Linked DNA regions of Homo sapiens: region 2 is linked to region 1. Evidence: promoter capture Hi-C in 16 types of primary human blood cells and fetal thymus (Javierre and others, 2016). All regions are on one chromosome and are shown on one strand. The core of a region is centred on a gene start or on the middle of the fragment in contact, and the rest is flanking DNA. Distances in the headings are between cores, read along the strand shown. Region 1 holds the start of NME9 (NME/NM23 family member 9). Region 2 holds the start of MRPS22 (mitochondrial ribosomal protein S22).

What was found. The method cuts DNA at HindIII sites, captures the fragments that hold promoters and counts their contacts. A CHiCAGO score of 5 or more calls a contact.
Region 2: a contact is called between a fragment that was not itself captured here and the fragment with the promoter of NME9 in region 1, in 1 of 17 cell types (total CD4 T cells). The highest score is 6.0, in total CD4 T cells.

What each region holds. Positions count from the first base shown.
Region 1 is chr3:138,325,727-138,333,506 of GRCh38, forward strand. NME9 (NME/NM23 family member 9) reads right to left here and starts at 4,125. Exons shown (of 11, transcript NM_001349018.2): 1 at 3,577-4,125. The coding sequence starts at 3,609. LOC124909438 (a long non-coding RNA gene) reads left to right here and starts at 4,207. Exons shown (of 2, transcript XR_007096113.1): 1 at 4,207-4,444. The HindIII fragment of the contact is 16,828 bases long and covers 1-7,304 here.
Region 2 is chr3:139,338,814-139,346,593 of GRCh38, forward strand. MRPS22 (mitochondrial ribosomal protein S22) reads left to right here and starts at 5,207. Exons shown (of 8, transcript NM_020191.4): 1 at 5,207-5,385. The coding sequence starts at 5,214. LOC124909439 reads right to left here and starts at 2,060. Exons shown (of 2, transcript XM_047449421.1): 1 at 1,757-2,060. The coding sequence starts at 1,885. RefSeq lists enhancers at 5,265-5,354, 5,314-5,608, 5,585-5,684, 5,695-5,814. The HindIII fragment of the contact is 595 bases long and covers 5,828-6,422 here.

The DNA.
Region 1 (7,780 bases), core at 2,875-5,374:
TAATGTTTTTTACTTTGAAATAATTTCAAACTTAGAGAAAGTGTGCAAGTACAGTATAAAGATTTAGGGATTTTTTTTTTTTTTTTTTTAGGTATTTGGAAGCAAATTACAGCTTGTTATCTTATTACTCCTGAATATATTATTCCTATATAACACATTACGATAATCAAAATCAGGGGAAAAAAACACTGACATATTGTGAACATTTAATCCTTAGATAGAGTGCAAGTTTTCCTATTTATCCCATAATGTCCTGAGTATCAAAGGAGCTAATCAGAAATGTGTGCTAGATTTATTTGTCAAGTCTTTTTAGTCTGGAATAGTTCTTTAGTCTTTCTCTTCTTTTCACAATGTTGACACTTTGGAAAACTACATGCCAGGTATTTTGTAGAATGTCCCTCAGTTGGGGCATATCTGATGTTTCCTCCTGATTGGATTCAGACTGTGCATGTTTGGACTGGTTGAAATTGGCTGGACTGGTTGGAGTGTTGGAGAAGCTGAAGATCATTCCTCTCACTACTCCCTAGCAGATGAGACACAATTTCCATCTGCCTGTTACTGATGTTCACTTTGATCACTGGATTAACATGGTCTGTCAGGTCTGTTGTCTGTAAAATTATTCTCTTTTCCTTTGTAATTAACATATTTTTGTGGTGAGCTACTTTGAAACTATATACATTAAAAGACCACAAAAATTACTACTGGGTTTTTTGTTTGTCTTTTTTGAGACACAGTCTCACTCTGTCACCCAGTCTGGAGTGCAGTGGCATGATCATGGCTCACTGCAACCTCTGCCTCCTGGGTTCAAGAGATTCTCCTGCCTCAGCCTCCCAAGTAGCTGGGATTACAAGTGCCCGCTACCACACCCGGGTAATTTTTTGTATTTTTAGTAGAGACAGGGTTTCACCATGTTGGCCAGGCTGGTCGTGAACTCCTGACCTCAAGTAATCTGCCTGCCTCGGCCTTCCAAAGTGCTGGGATTACAGGCATGAGCCAGCACGCCTGGCCTACTATTGTTCTTAATACAGGTATGCTAAGGTCTGTGTCCCTCTAAAAAAGATAGGATGCATTATTGGCAATAAGGGCAAGAAACATGTAACAACTGCTAATCCTCTATTAAAAGTTCCTTTTTTGGCCGAACGTGGTTGCTCATGCCTGTAATCCCAACACTTTTGGAGGCCAGGGCGGGCAGATCACTTGAGGCCAGAAGTTTCAGACCTGCCTGGCCAACATGGTGAAACCCTGCCTCTACTAAAAAAAAAAAAAAAAAAAAAAAAAAGTTAGCCGGGCGTGGTGGCGCATACCTGTTTTACCAGCTACTCGGGAGGCTGAGACATGAGAACTGCTTGAACGTGAGAGGTGGAGGTTGCACTGAGATGAGATCATGCCGCTGCATTCCAGCCTGGGCGACAGGACAGAATGAAACTGTCTCAAAAAAAAAAAAAAAAAAGTCTCTCTTTTAAGGAAGCATAGTCCTTACTTTTTTTGTTTCAATGAAAAGTAGAAGAAAAAGAAACCCAGAAAAGTCTTCTTGATGTCTTAAATGAAATAAGAGAGTTGGACTGACATAACCCTGGGCCCACAACTACAGTCCTGAGGAAGGTGATAGAAGCGTTCGGAAGGGCCCCACACCCCTACCCAGAGGCTCAGACTTAAGTCACCAGCAGCTCTCTGTGGCCCACCCCTGTCATGGAGTGAGTCCCACCAGCTCTGGGGCCAGGACTCTGGGCAGTTGAAGAATCTCAGCCCTGGGAGCCAGGCAAGAGTGGAACAGTGTGGGAACTATCCGGACTTCACTAAGCCTGCATTTGGTAGGGAATGAATAGGGAATGTGTGGCACCTTTTACCCAGACTGTCCCTTGATGTCCTGTGATTTCTGCCTGTCTCAGTTATAAAGGGAACCCTGAATAACCTTGCTGAGAGAGAGGACAAGGTTCCTGGGTTGGCCAACTTTAGGCATTGCTTTCAAGGGGTTTACCTTATAGAGAGGTGACCTTTACACAGATGCCTCAGTAGAAGACGGGAGGGGAGGCTGCTCGCTCTCCTCCTTTCAGCAGGAGGGAGCACTTAGTTTGAGTACTGCATTGTACTCAGAGCTCTGAGTAATACACATGAAAAAATAACAACATTGCTAACAAAAGTTATTACCCCCATAGGAGCTCTAGGGCATCAACACATGAAATGACCATAATATGGGGCAATAACATTAGAGACACCACAGACAACATCAGACCAGCCAGGAAGTGTCTAAAGGAGTCTCATCACAGCTCTGCAGGCGTTACAGGACAGGTATCATCCCTCCTGTCTACGTAAAGGATACGGAGGCCAGAGAGTTGAGGAAATGAGTCACACAGCAATGAATGGTAGGACCAGTTGATCAGAATTTACTTCAACCAGAACATTCACGTATGAAGTGGCTTCTGACTCTAGAATCCTAGAATATCAAGGCTGGAAGAAGGCCCTTAGGGATAATTCACACAACATCCTCATTCCATAGATGGGCAAGCTATAGCCTGGAGAGGTTATGTGATGTAGTCAAAGACACAGTTGGCTATAGAGGACACAAGAACTACATCAGGTCTTCTGACTTCCAGTCTAAAAATCCCACCCCACCCCACCCCACACCCCTCCCACCCCCAGCATGGGGTACCCTTAGAATGATGCTGCTTTCCCCTTTCCTCTTTTTTAAACCACTAGGCTTTTGAAATCCACATGCAAACTGCTGGTCCTGCTGAGGACAATAAGAGAGAAACCAGATGTCTCAAAACCACTAATGCTCTATTATCTAGGAGGCGCTGTAGCCTTGGTATGCATCTTACTGGGGCCAGCTGATGATGAGGCATTTTAAGTTCGTTTTAAAATGTTCCCATGTTGCAGATCATCCAGCTGATCTCCTTATGACCAAGCACTCTCTCCTAATTCCAGGGTCTATGCCTGCATGTTTTTACCATCACTTCAGAATCAACCACTATCTATTGTCCAGGACCAAGAAGAAGAGCAGCTGCTGGCTTCTGAATTCACTTGTCCCACATGCAAATGAAGTAAGACACTCTATATAACATATGTCCAGCACATAATATATCTCAAAACATATTTGTTAATAAGTGAAATTTGATGAGAACAGTGGTGGGAAAACTGGGTCTCCACAGAGCACACAGTTACAGACTCATGCCCAAAGTCAAAAGAACCTATACTGTATTCTCTGTGCAAGCTGCAGTTGTATTTCAACAAGAACAAAATAACGGTCACATCGAGTTATGTTGATTCGTATTTTCTTAGTTTATAGTTTTATTTAATGCATGTTTAGGTTTTATGGTTGTATAAGCACTATAAATGTAAACAGCTTCTACTCAGTTTTGTTTGCATTAATTTTGTTTGCGTAAAATTTGTCATCACTGGGGTTCCAAGATAAGTTTTGTCCCTTTAAGACGGAAGGGTACATCACTCAAGTTTGAGAACACTGTCACGTACTGCTGGCAAACAGAATGTCACTTTTATACTGCAACCCCGCTCTAATCACCCTCCTCTTCCCCGAGCCCAACCCAGAGCTGGAAGCTAGCGCCCCTTGAGGCTTACCTGCAGGGCAATTTCCTTCTTCCTGCTGCCCATGGCTCTGCAAAGAAGACGAAGCCCTGTTACCGCGGCCGTGGGCCGTTCCCCCGCAGCCTCGCGACAAACCGCTGCGTGGATCAGCAAGCCCAGAGCCTCCTTCAGACAAGCCCCCCTCCTACGGCCCCCGGCCCCTTTTTAAGGTGCTTCTAACTGGCGGCAAATCAGCACACTGATACAAAGTGAACACCCCGCGAGGAAGCGGAGCCTGCAGTCCACGGGCTCGTGGCTCGCCGGGCGGTTTTCTGGGGATCTGCGAAGCCCCCTCCCCACCCCGGAGCCGGCCAGGGGGCGCGCGCAGAGGCCGGAGTCAGTGCGCCGGGCGCGGTGCAGCCTGTCGGGCACAGGGTCGCCAGTCGAGGAATTCTGACAAAAAAACGACATGGGACCCTGTTATCCCTGCTGTTCTTATGGATTACTGGGAAAGTGAGCCACTGCGAACGACAGGTACAAGATCTTCGACGCGCCCGGAGTCACCAACCGAGTCTGCCGCGACCTAGCCGCGGTCGTCATGGCAACCTGGCCCCCCCGCCAGGCCTGCCAGGAAAGCCGGCGGACACGTAAGCCACGCCCACTCTGGGCCCAACGCAGTCTCTCCGCGGAGGCTCTGAACCCAGCCAGGGAGAGGCAGGAGGGAGTCCCGCCCCTTGCCCTCCATATCGGACCATAGGAACCCACTCATTGGCTGCAGTGTTTGTCAGCGTCTGGAGGCTTCGAACCCACCAAGCAAAGACCCAGTGCATCTGTGCGTTGCACAGTCGCATCTGTGAATCCCTGCATCCCTCCTGCCCTGCCTGCCAAGACTGATGTGCAGCTTTTCTACCATCACATACCGGTATAATGTGTGCAAGGTGGGGGGTGTCTCCAGGTTTTGAGGGATCTGCAAGCGTTCTCTTTAAGGCAAAGAATATGAAATTACAAATTCAAAATTAGATATGAAAGTCAAGTGAGACACATACAAAACAGTTACAGACATTGTAGATATTAATCCAACTGTATCAATAACCACTTTAAATGTGAATAATCTGATTACACCAATTAAAAAAGAGATTGTCAGAATGGATTTCAAAAACAAACAAAGCCCAATCGTGTGTTATCCACAAGAAAATACATTAAAAGCAAAAGGATAGAGAAAGCTATACCAGGCTGACACTAATTAAAAAAATAGCTGAAGTAGGTATGTTAATTTCAAGAAAAGCAGACTTCAGAACAAGGAAATTTATCAGGTATAAACAGGGACATTACATAAAGTTAAAGGGATCAGTTATTTGGGAAGACATAACAATACTTAATATGTATGTACTTAAAAACAGAGCACCGAAATATGTGAGGCAAAAGAAGATAAAACTGCAAGGAAAAATAGGTAAACTCAGTATTATAATAGAATGCTTTCATACCATTTTTAAAAAGTAATTAATACATCCAGCAGAAGCAAATGAGCAAGGATATAGTTGAACTGAAAAATATCAAATTGATCTAATTGACATTTATGCAATATTTAGTTCAACAACAGCGGAATATAGATTCTTTCTCAAGCTCACATGGGACATTCACTGAGATAGACCACAATCTAGGCCATAAAACATAGCTTAACAAATTTAAAAGGATAGAACAAAGTATGTTCTCTGACTGCAATAGAATTAAACTAGGAATCAATCACAGCTGATGAAAGAGATCTCACAGATTTAAATAAATGAAGAAATATTCCGTGTTCATGGATAGGAAGAATTAATATTGTTAAGATATCAATTCTTCCTAAGTGAAGCATACACCAAATGATTTCCATCCAGGGAGTGCTGATACCCTGTTTGGCCATGAGGTACCCAGCAACCCTCTGTGAAGTACAGGGCGATGGGTATACTGGAGACCGAACATCTTCCTACCTGTCATCCTGCCTTCTCCCACTTCAGCTCCGAATCCACCTACTCTTTTCTTGCATTCAGTCCCATGGCAATATTCAGTTCCATGATAATATTACGCAGAGCCACAGGCAGTCCTTAAGACACCACATTGCAAACTGAGTTGACTAGATGCAAATCATGTTCATTGCCACAAGGTGGTGGTTGCTGAAGCTCTTGAATGGTGTGGAATCTCCCTTAGAATTTAGTTTCCAAAATAAAATTCAAATCAGATGCTAAATTCCTCTTGCCAGCACATGGAAAGATAGTGACATTTATTCTTTCTGAAAGGGTTAAATTTCTTACCATGTGGTCTCTATTACAAAATGTACTCACATCTTTGCCAGGCTAAACCTCAGAAACAAATTTAGGTAAACCACATGTCCCAGTTTGCCTGGGACACCCCCACTTTTCACCTGTTGTCCCATGCAATTATTAATAGCAACCCCTCTCACTTTCAAAAGTGTACAGTTTGGGTAGGGTGCAGTAGCTCACGCCTGTAATCCCAGCACTCTGGGAGGCCGAGGCAGGTGGATCACTTGAGGGCAGGAGCCTGGCCAACATGGTGAAACCCTGTCTCTACTAAAAAAAAGTATCAAATAACTGGGCCTGGTGGTGCATGCCTATAATCCCAGCTACTTGGGAGGCTGAGGCAGGAGAATCACTTGAACCCAGAAGACGGAGGTTGCAGTGAGCCAAGATCGTGCCACTGCACTCCAGCCTGGGTGACAGAACAAGACTCCATCTCAAAGAAAAAAAAAATTACAGTTTGGACAACATGGAACCTCATCAGTTTTTTCCCAGATGAATCACCTTGGGCCACTCCTGCTTTTTAATAAAACTTCCATCTTTTACATGTTTTGTGACACAGGTGAATGGTTTTTTTTGTTGTTGTTGTTTTTGTTTTTTTGGTTTTTTTTTGAGACAGAGTCTTGCTCTGTCACCTGGGCTGGAGTGCAGTGGCGTGATCTCAGCTCACTGCAACCTCCGCCTCCCGCGTTCAAGCAATTCTCCTGCCTCAGCCTCCCGAGTAGCTGGGACTACAGGCATGTGGCACTATGCCCAGCTAATTTTTGTATTTTTAGTAGAGATGGGGTTTTACCCCGTTGGTTGGCCAGGATGGTCTAGATCTCTTGACCTTATGATCCGCCTGCCTCAGCCTCCCAAAGTGCTGGGATTACAGGCATGAGCCACTGCTCCCCGCTGGGTCAGTGTTTTTATTTATTATCCAAAAGTCAGATTTTTTCAAATGTATCTATTTTTAATCAGCCCTTCCCTCAGTGATGTACTTTTTTGTTTGTTTTATTTTAATGCAAAACCTGCTAACTAAATTTAAGGGCTACTGAGGTGTTTTAGAGTTCAAAAGATTAAAAACCAAACTCTTCCTCCTGCAACTCATGTTTATTGCCACAAGGTGGTGGTTTACTCAAAATAAACCCTTCTGAGACCCAAATTGGACACTAGGAGCATTTTCTTTATCAAAATGCTTCAGAACTGATGTGACTCTGTAAAACAAGAATGACCCTCCTCACTTTAAGAGGAAATCATAGACCAAAGCAGGCTGTGCTTCCTCGGATGCCTTCCCGTTTTTCATCGTAGAAGATAAGAATGTATATACACATCTTCGTCTAACCTAACTCCTCTCTCCTTCCAGGTGTAATGTCTTCTTTTTTCCACAAGTAACAGCAGGTCCCTCCTGTGCCTTGCTCTGAGGAAGGCAGCTGGGAGTGGTAGAACTGGGAACTTTAGGGTCAGACAGATGTGGGCTGGATCACAGATACACCTACTACCTGTCTAAGCTTGGGTGAAGCTACTTCAGCTTATTCAGTCAGTCTTAGTTTCCTCATCTTTAAATTTTTTTTTTTTTAAAGAAATGGGGTCTTGTTATGTTGCGAGGTGCCTGGAACACCTAGGCTCAAGCAATCCTCCCACTTCAGCCTCCCAGGCAGCTGGGACTGCAGGTGTCCACCACCATGCCCGGCTTGTTTCCTCATCTTTAAACAGGGAAATAAGACCTACCTTTCAGGAATGTTGTGGAGAGAGGTAATGCGTTTCAAAGTTTCTTGACATTAAAACCAGTATTACTGTTGGCCGGGTGCAGTGGCTTACGCCTGTAATCAGTCCCAGCACTTTGGGATGCCAAGGCGGGTGGATCACGAGGTCAGGAGATCGAGACCCTCCTGGCTAACGTGGTGAAACCCCGTCTCTACTAAAAATACAAAAAAAAATTAGCTGGGCGTGGTGGCGGGCGCCTGTAGTCCCAGCTACTCGGG
Region 2 (7,780 bases), core at 4,875-7,374, 1.0 Mb after region 1:
CATTTTCCCTTTCTGGCTCTGGCTTCCTGCAAACAGCCACCACTACATCCTTTTGCCAGCCTCTCCCAGCCAGGCCCCAAGAATCTTCAAAACACTGAAGTCCTAAGTCTCAAGTGAAATTATGCCCAGGCCCCTGACCTGGGGGAGCTGCATGCAAGTCAGGGCAATCAGATACATCACATTTTCCCATGAAAGAAATTTCTGACAGGCTTATTAACCTTTGAAAATACCAGTTCTCAGTCTGAGGGACTTCCTGAGTCCAGATCAAATTGAAAAATAACCTAGTGACAGACCACCCAGTTCTGAGCTGATGGGAATTACTTTCAACCCAGGCCAGCATGTCCTTTAGACAAAATGTTCCACACCAAACCTGACAGCAGCCAGATCTTGGGAGCAGGGGAGCCAAGTGCCATTTATTACAAAACATATCCATGATCGCTGTGTCATGGGGCCACTGCTCTGGGCCCAAGTCCCTTTGGGGGCAGCTGGGGTGGCAAGTAGCAGCCAGCCTTAGTGCCTTTGACATTTATGTCCCTGTGCTATAGGACAGAGGGTCTGTCTGTCATCACAGACTGATGTAGCCTTGGCCCCTGGCAATCATTTTCTGTTTCAAGTGTTCAGTTTGGTGTAGAATTGTAGTTCAGTGGATGCTATCAGAAGAAAAAGGACAGAGTGTCACGTGGAAAATTGGAGATAAACTGATAACTCCAGGGTTAGAGGAACTGACTCATCCGCCCCCACTGGCTTGTGGTGGAGGACAGTCTCCCTCCTTCTCTCTTTTGGGCCATATTCTGGCTCAGAAGTCAGTCTATGTAATTTCTGGAAGTGTCAATGTTTTTCTTCACCCCATAGAACACATGTAGAACAGAGCTTTTCCACCATAAGAGCTGCCAGGTACCTCAGAGTTCAGCCTTGTCACTGCATGGAATAAATTGGGTGGTCATGCGCAAGACCCATAACTTCAGAGCCTCAGTTTATGCATATAAAAGATGGGAATATCAGTGCCTGCCCTGTCTGCCTCACTAATTTGCCATGAAGACTAACAGGGCTGATGAGAAGACAGTGCACTCTGAGTGAGAGGGAAGGGGCTTGGGCCATCACATCTTCAACCATTCCTACCATTGTTCAAGGTTTTTTTGCTCAGGCAAACCCTCACACAGGCTTCCAGGAATGTCTTCTGATGTTTCCCCTCTTTCTCTGGAATTATCTCCTCTTCTGCACTGCTACTGACTGTCCCACTGCTCAGCAGGTTGCATCCCAGCCATGTGCCCAGCCCCAGCAGATACTTCAAACTGCTCATTCCTATAGCTCCCAACACAACCGTACCTCTTCTCGACCAATGATTTTGCTTTCCAGTGCTCAGAAAAAGGGACAGAGAGGCAGGAAGGCTCTCTGATTCTCTCCCCAAAACGTATCCACTCTAACCATCCTTAACTCCTGGCCTACTGGTGCAAAGGCTCCTTTGCATCTACTACCAATGCCTCCACTTAGAATCTTCATCCCCTGAAGCTTCCTCAGGGATCCACAACATCACTTGTCCCTTCTCGTTACTGGATCTTTGGTTTTTTCCTTGCTACCAGTCCCTTCTCAGCACACAAAGGGGAATTTCGGCCATGGAATTTGTGTCTCTGTAGGAACATGTAAGAGGTTTGGACTTTGAATAGGGGCCAGAAGAATAAAAACTCTGGGTGAAGTCAAAAGTGGGGTGGATGTGGACCTTTTGGGAGGCCTCAAGGATAGGGAATTGAAGACTTACAGAAGTCACATGAGTGTGGTTGCTGGAGACCGCAGGGGTTCTTGCGTTGTCCAGACTGTCACCTTTCTTCCTTGGGCTCTGTTCTTCCTCTCTCCATTCCTCTCCCTGACTTTTATCCCCTAACCCCATCTTGACTTCTAAAAGCTTAGGATAAAATATATCTTTTAAAAAACAGAAGTCCAGACCCTGTTAAATCACTGAGAGTGGGATAAGGCACTCCCCACTGAGGCATCACTATACTTTTGTTTTACAAATAATAGAAAACCATGCTTGCTCCACAGAGCTGGTGAAGATATGACCTAATGAATCCTAACAGTAGCTGCAGCCAGATAGCCTTGGGACTGTCAGTCAGAGGGCCAACCCTCCCCAACCCCCAGTGGTGAACAGAACCCCACCCAGGCCAATCAGCCTCTCTCACCAGGAACTTAGATTGGATGGAAGGCAGGGAGTTGGAACCAAGCCATTAGGACTGCAACCTCCTGGAGAGATCTCTTGAGTTCCTGCCTCTGGGGTTCTTGGAGCTGCCATCTTTCAAGTCCTTCCTGAGGCTTGGCTGTTGAGCTTTTTCTTGAATTCTGTGAGATATTCAGTATCCTTCCAATTACTCCCATTTCAGTTTTACTCAGGAAAGATTTGTTTCTTGCAACCAGAGTACTTCTGAATACCATCCTCAGAAAGTAACTGACTTGGGTGCCATGGCTCATGCCTGCAATTCCAGCACTTTGGTAGGCTGAGGCGGGCAGATCACTTGAGCCCAGGAGTTCAAGACCAGCCTGGACAACACAAAAATTAGCTGGGCATGGTGGTGTGCACCTGTAGTCCTAGCTACTTGGGAGGCTAAGGTGGGAGGATTGCTTGAGCCCAGGAGGCAGAGGTTGCAGTGAGCTGAGATCATGCTACTGCACTCCAGCCATGGTGACAAAGTAAGAAAGACCCTGTCTCAAAAGAAAAAAAAAAACGGAAAAGAAAAAAAGAAAGTAATTGACTTGCCACCACACAACCTTCTCACACCATCTTTATGAAACACCAGACATCAGATCCTGAAAGTACTTTATTCTCAAAGTTTGCAAGATAAGTATTGTCATTATGCCCATTTTGCAGGTGAGGTACTGGGGCTCTGAAAGATGTGGGCATCTGCCTGAGGTTATAGCTTAAACCAGGAATCTTCATTACTCCATATCAGTAAAACTCACTGTACCCCAAGTAAAAGAGGTCATTGAAAGGAAAGTGGGAAGCTCTCTGGCCAAGACACCACCTTTCTCCATCTCTCTCCGTACATATTCTCCCATCTCTGCTTCTGAGGATCTGCTCCATTTTCCTGCCTCTCTCTGCAGAGTGGCTTTTCCCTGCTCACTCATCAGTGAGCACATTGCTGAAAAAGGCTGCTTCAGCCCAAACCCTAAATACTTAGTTATTCACTTCAAGCTTCCACCGTCGACTATTCTATGTCTCATAGTTTGAATTATTGAGAAAAAATCTGCTTGGTGCCTGGTCATCTGGGGTAGGCTGAAGAATGCCCCCATACTTCCTCCCAAGTATAACTGCACTCTAATCCATGGAACTTGTGGATGTTACCTTATATGGAAACATGGTCTTTGCAGATGTGATTAAGTTAAAGATTTTAAAATGGGGATTATCTTGGATTATCAGGGTGGGTCAGTGATTATGCAATCACATACATCCTTATAAGAAGAAAACAGAGGAAGATTTGGCACAAATAGAAGAAGAGAAGCTGATGTGAAGATGGAGGCAGAGATTGAAATGATGCAGCCACAGGCAAAGGAATGTTTACAGTCATCAGAAACTGGAAGAGACAAGGGGCAGATTCTTCTCCAGAGATAGACTCTAAGGGGAGCAGAGCTCCCTTGATTTCAGCTCAGTAATACTGATTTCAGATTTCTCATGCGGAATTGTGAAAGAATACATTTTTGTTATTTTAAACCATAATATTTGTGGTAGTTTGTTATAGCAGCCACAGGAAACTAATGCTAATACAGCAGCCAATGGATTCATTCATCCTGCACTAAGTGTCCAATCAGCTGTGTCCAGGAGGATGTTTACAGGAAAAACATAGCCACTGAGGCCTGCTCCCTCAGCTATGGGAAGAAAGTAGAGGGTTCATTTTCAGAGAAAAGGCATGGGCTGGGAGACACCTGCATTCATCCTGCCACTAGTCTCTGACACCTGCTATCATGTAGGTGTAAGCATTGGGAAGTGCAGGGCAGCAGACTTGCCTAAATAGGCACCAAGCCTAGTGCTCTCCCTTCCCCTCCCAAATAGGGAATGAGTTCATAAACAGCACTGTTAATATTAATGCTAAGTTGGGGGAAAATAGCTGAGGCTGGAAGGTGAGTCTATTCATCCAGCTAAGTCAAACAAGAGTTTACTAACACCCTGTTTTCCCAGGCCTTGGGATAAGTGCTTAGCACAGGCACCAATCTATAGTCTAGAGAAGGATAAGACCTGCACATCCTGGATAGCTGGAAAAAATGTAAAGAATCATTTAATCATTCATTCATTTATTCAACAAAAGTTTGCTGTGCACGTAGATGTACTAGGCTAGGTGATATTGCAATAAAATATGTAGAGTCACTGTGTTCATGGGGTGAGAAAAAGAAATAAGCAGATAAAGAGCAAAATAACAGATTATAAAATGGGCTATAAAGGAAAGGAATAAGTGTTGAGACAGAGAATCAGGTGTATGAATTGGCAGTGGCAGTGGTGGTGGTGGTAATCAGGGCTTGGAGTCAGGAGTTAGATTTAGGGTGCATGTGAGCAGTGTGGATGGAGAAATTTAAGAAGTAGTTGGATTTAAACCTGAGGATGGGGGAGAAGGTTTGGGCAGGAAGTGGAATACATAAATTATGTATTTATTTGAGACAAGAGTCTCACTCTGTCACCCAGGCTAGAGTGTTTGTTTGTTTGTTTATTTGAGATGGAGTCTTGCTTTGTTGCTCAGGCTGGAGTGCAATGGCACGATCTTGGCTCAATGCAACCTTTGCCTCCTCGGTTCAAGCGATTCTCCTGGTACAGGCGCCCGCCACCATGCTTGGCTAATTTTTATATTTTTAGTAGAGACGGGGGTTTCACCATGTTGGCCAGGCTAATCTCGAACTCCTGACCTCAGGTGATCCGCCCGCCTTGGCCTCCCAGACTGCTGGGATTACAGGCGTGAGCCACGGCGCCTGGCCGGAAATTTGTTATTTAGAACGATGGAAACGGGTAGGAAAAAGAGCATATAGGGAAAAAGGTGTAAGTTTTAACTTTATGCATAGGGAAGGACATAAACACCGTCTACTTGTGAATAAGTAGTTTAGAAGAAACAATCTATAAGGGCCCGGAAGACTTCCGGCCCTTTCCGCCTTTAACTAGACTACATTTCCCAGAGTGCTGCAAGAACTGGGTGTGACTCGGAATCCCTCCCAACCACTTCCGGCGCAAGTGGCTTCTGATAATCATGGCGCCCCTCGGAACAACTGTATTGCTGTGGAGCCTCTTGAGGAGTTCTCCGGGCGTGGAACGGGTCTGTTTCCGGGCTCGAATCCAGCCCTGGCACGGTGGCCTGCTCCAACCGCTACCTTGCTCTTTCGAGATGGGGCTGCCACGCCGCCGGTTCAGCTCCGAGGCCGGTAAGTGACCTTCCGGACTTTCGCTGGGGCGTTCTTCTGGGAGACGTAGATCCTGTTTCTGGCAGGCGAAAACCACGCGATAGCCCCCGCGACACGTATCCTAGCGCTTCCTCAGATTCAGCTGTCTTCCTTCTGTACCTGTAGAGTTTGTCATCACCTGCATATCTGTTCATTCGTTCACTCACTCAACTACAGTGCCTGAGTTCCGCTCCGTGCAGAGCACTGTGCTAAGCTCTGTGGGATATGGCAAACTAAGACTGACACAGACATTTCCCTGTGGGAACTCATGTCCATGGGGAATTGGCAGTGCAGTGTGACCCGGGTTGTTATAGGGGACGCACACAGGAGAGGCACTCAAACTAGGTTGGAAGGTCAGGGAAGGGTTCCTGGCAAATATGACCAAAGCTGAGATCTGGTTAGCCATGCTAAGGAGAAAGCAAGAAGCTTCTCAAGCATAGGGGACAGTAGCAGATGTCCAGAAATGAGACTGAGCACAGATATTTGGGAACCCATTTTGGAGGTAGGATTGATAAGGCTTGATTAAGGCTTTGGATATGAGTTTAAAGGGACAAATTAAGATTGTTTCTTAAGTTTTTGATTGGAATAGAGGGTTGTCCCATTTACACCAAGATGAAGAAGATTAATTAATTGTTGGAACCGTTATTTTGGGGGCGGGGGTAGTGCAGGAGTAGATGAGATCAGGAGATGGGAAAGGAGGCGGAATTAAACCTATTTGGGACACATTAAATTTGAGGTGACTTTAAGAGTCAACTGTTTAGTATGGAGTTAAATATAAAGTGAGGAACATCGGAGTAAAAATGGTAACTAAAGGTGAGTGAATGGGTGAGACTGAGGAGAGAGTAGTGCTGAGCACTTGCTGTGTGCTGGATACCCTGAGGAACCCTGGGTGCCAGAGATGAGTATAAGACAAGGTCTGGTCTTCATAGAGCACATCACTTAGTGAGAGACATAGTGTAGGTAAGCAGACCACCTTAACTTTTTTTCTAAATGAGGTTGGAAGCCATTCGTGAATTTTAAGCTTGGGAGTAATCTTGATTACATTTTAAAGAGATTACTCTGGTTGCTCTGTGGAGAATGATCTGTAGTGGGGCCAGAATGGAGAAAGGGAGGCTGATGCAAGAGATGAGGATAGCCTTGACTAGAGTAGTGGCAGTGGGAAATGGAGGATTAAAATGAGATTTATGAAGGCAAACAATCAGTATGTTCTCTGCCAGTGGTGTTTTTTTTTTTGTTTTTTTTTTTTTTTTGTAAAATTGGGATAATCTTCGTGTTTACCTCATGGGTTGTTGTGAGTATTAAATGGGCTGAATGTGTAAAGTACTTAGCTCAGTCAGTATTGGCATGTAGTAAATAGCTAATAAATGGTAGCTCTTATAATTACTGTTATTATTACTACAGCTATTTGATTACTGTTGTTGTTATTACTACTGCTATTGGCTAGATCTGGAGGATCAGGGAGAATTTAGGAATGGCTGTAAGATTTCTGGCCTGTATGGCCTACTGGATGATGCTGAGATAGGGAACAGAAAATGCAGGTTTGAGACAAGGGAAAGTTGATGGGTTCTGACTTGGCAGTATTCAAGTACATGAGAGAGGTTGAGTAATTGGATGGAAGGTGATCTTGGCAGGAGATTCAGATTTTAGAGTTTCTGGCATATAAAGGTAATTGAAGTCGTGGCAGGATAGGAGAAATCATCGAGTAAGAATCTGAGAAGGGAGAAAAGGACATCGTTCAGAATCTGTAGGGATACCAACATTTATAGGAGAAGAAGAGGTGACTAGGAACAAATGGCTTTTTCTTTCTTTTTTGCTAATGGAAATGGAAGTAGAAGTTAGGCAAAGCAATAAGCAAACTGCATGAGGCTGAGCTAAGATTTGATTCTCTGCTTATGTCAAAGGCTCTTCCATGATAACACACGGCCTCTTCAGTATCATGTCCAGTGAACCAAGCCTCTTTCCTAGCTGCAATCTCTTAGCCTAGACTTTCCCTCCCTTTTTTCTCTGCCGTGATGAGGCTCTTGGGACGCTTTCTTTGACCCTGTCATGCCCATCCCTAGTCCAGGCTATGCTTAGTTTCTTCCTCTGCAATCACCCAAGCCCCGTACCTCTCCTGTATACCATACCTCTCACATTATGTCTCCCCACACCTCCCACTTATACCGAGGAGCGCTATGATAAATTGGAAACCATCTAGGATCCAGAACCAGACAAACCTTGGTTTAAATTTTGACTCTATCACTTAATAGCTAGTTGTCTTTGGATAGGCTTCAGCATCCTCATTTATAAAATTGGGTTTATCAGTACCTATTTTGTGAGTGGTTATAAGCATTCCTGAAAATGTGTGTTATACCTGCCATATAGGAGACAGCTCTGT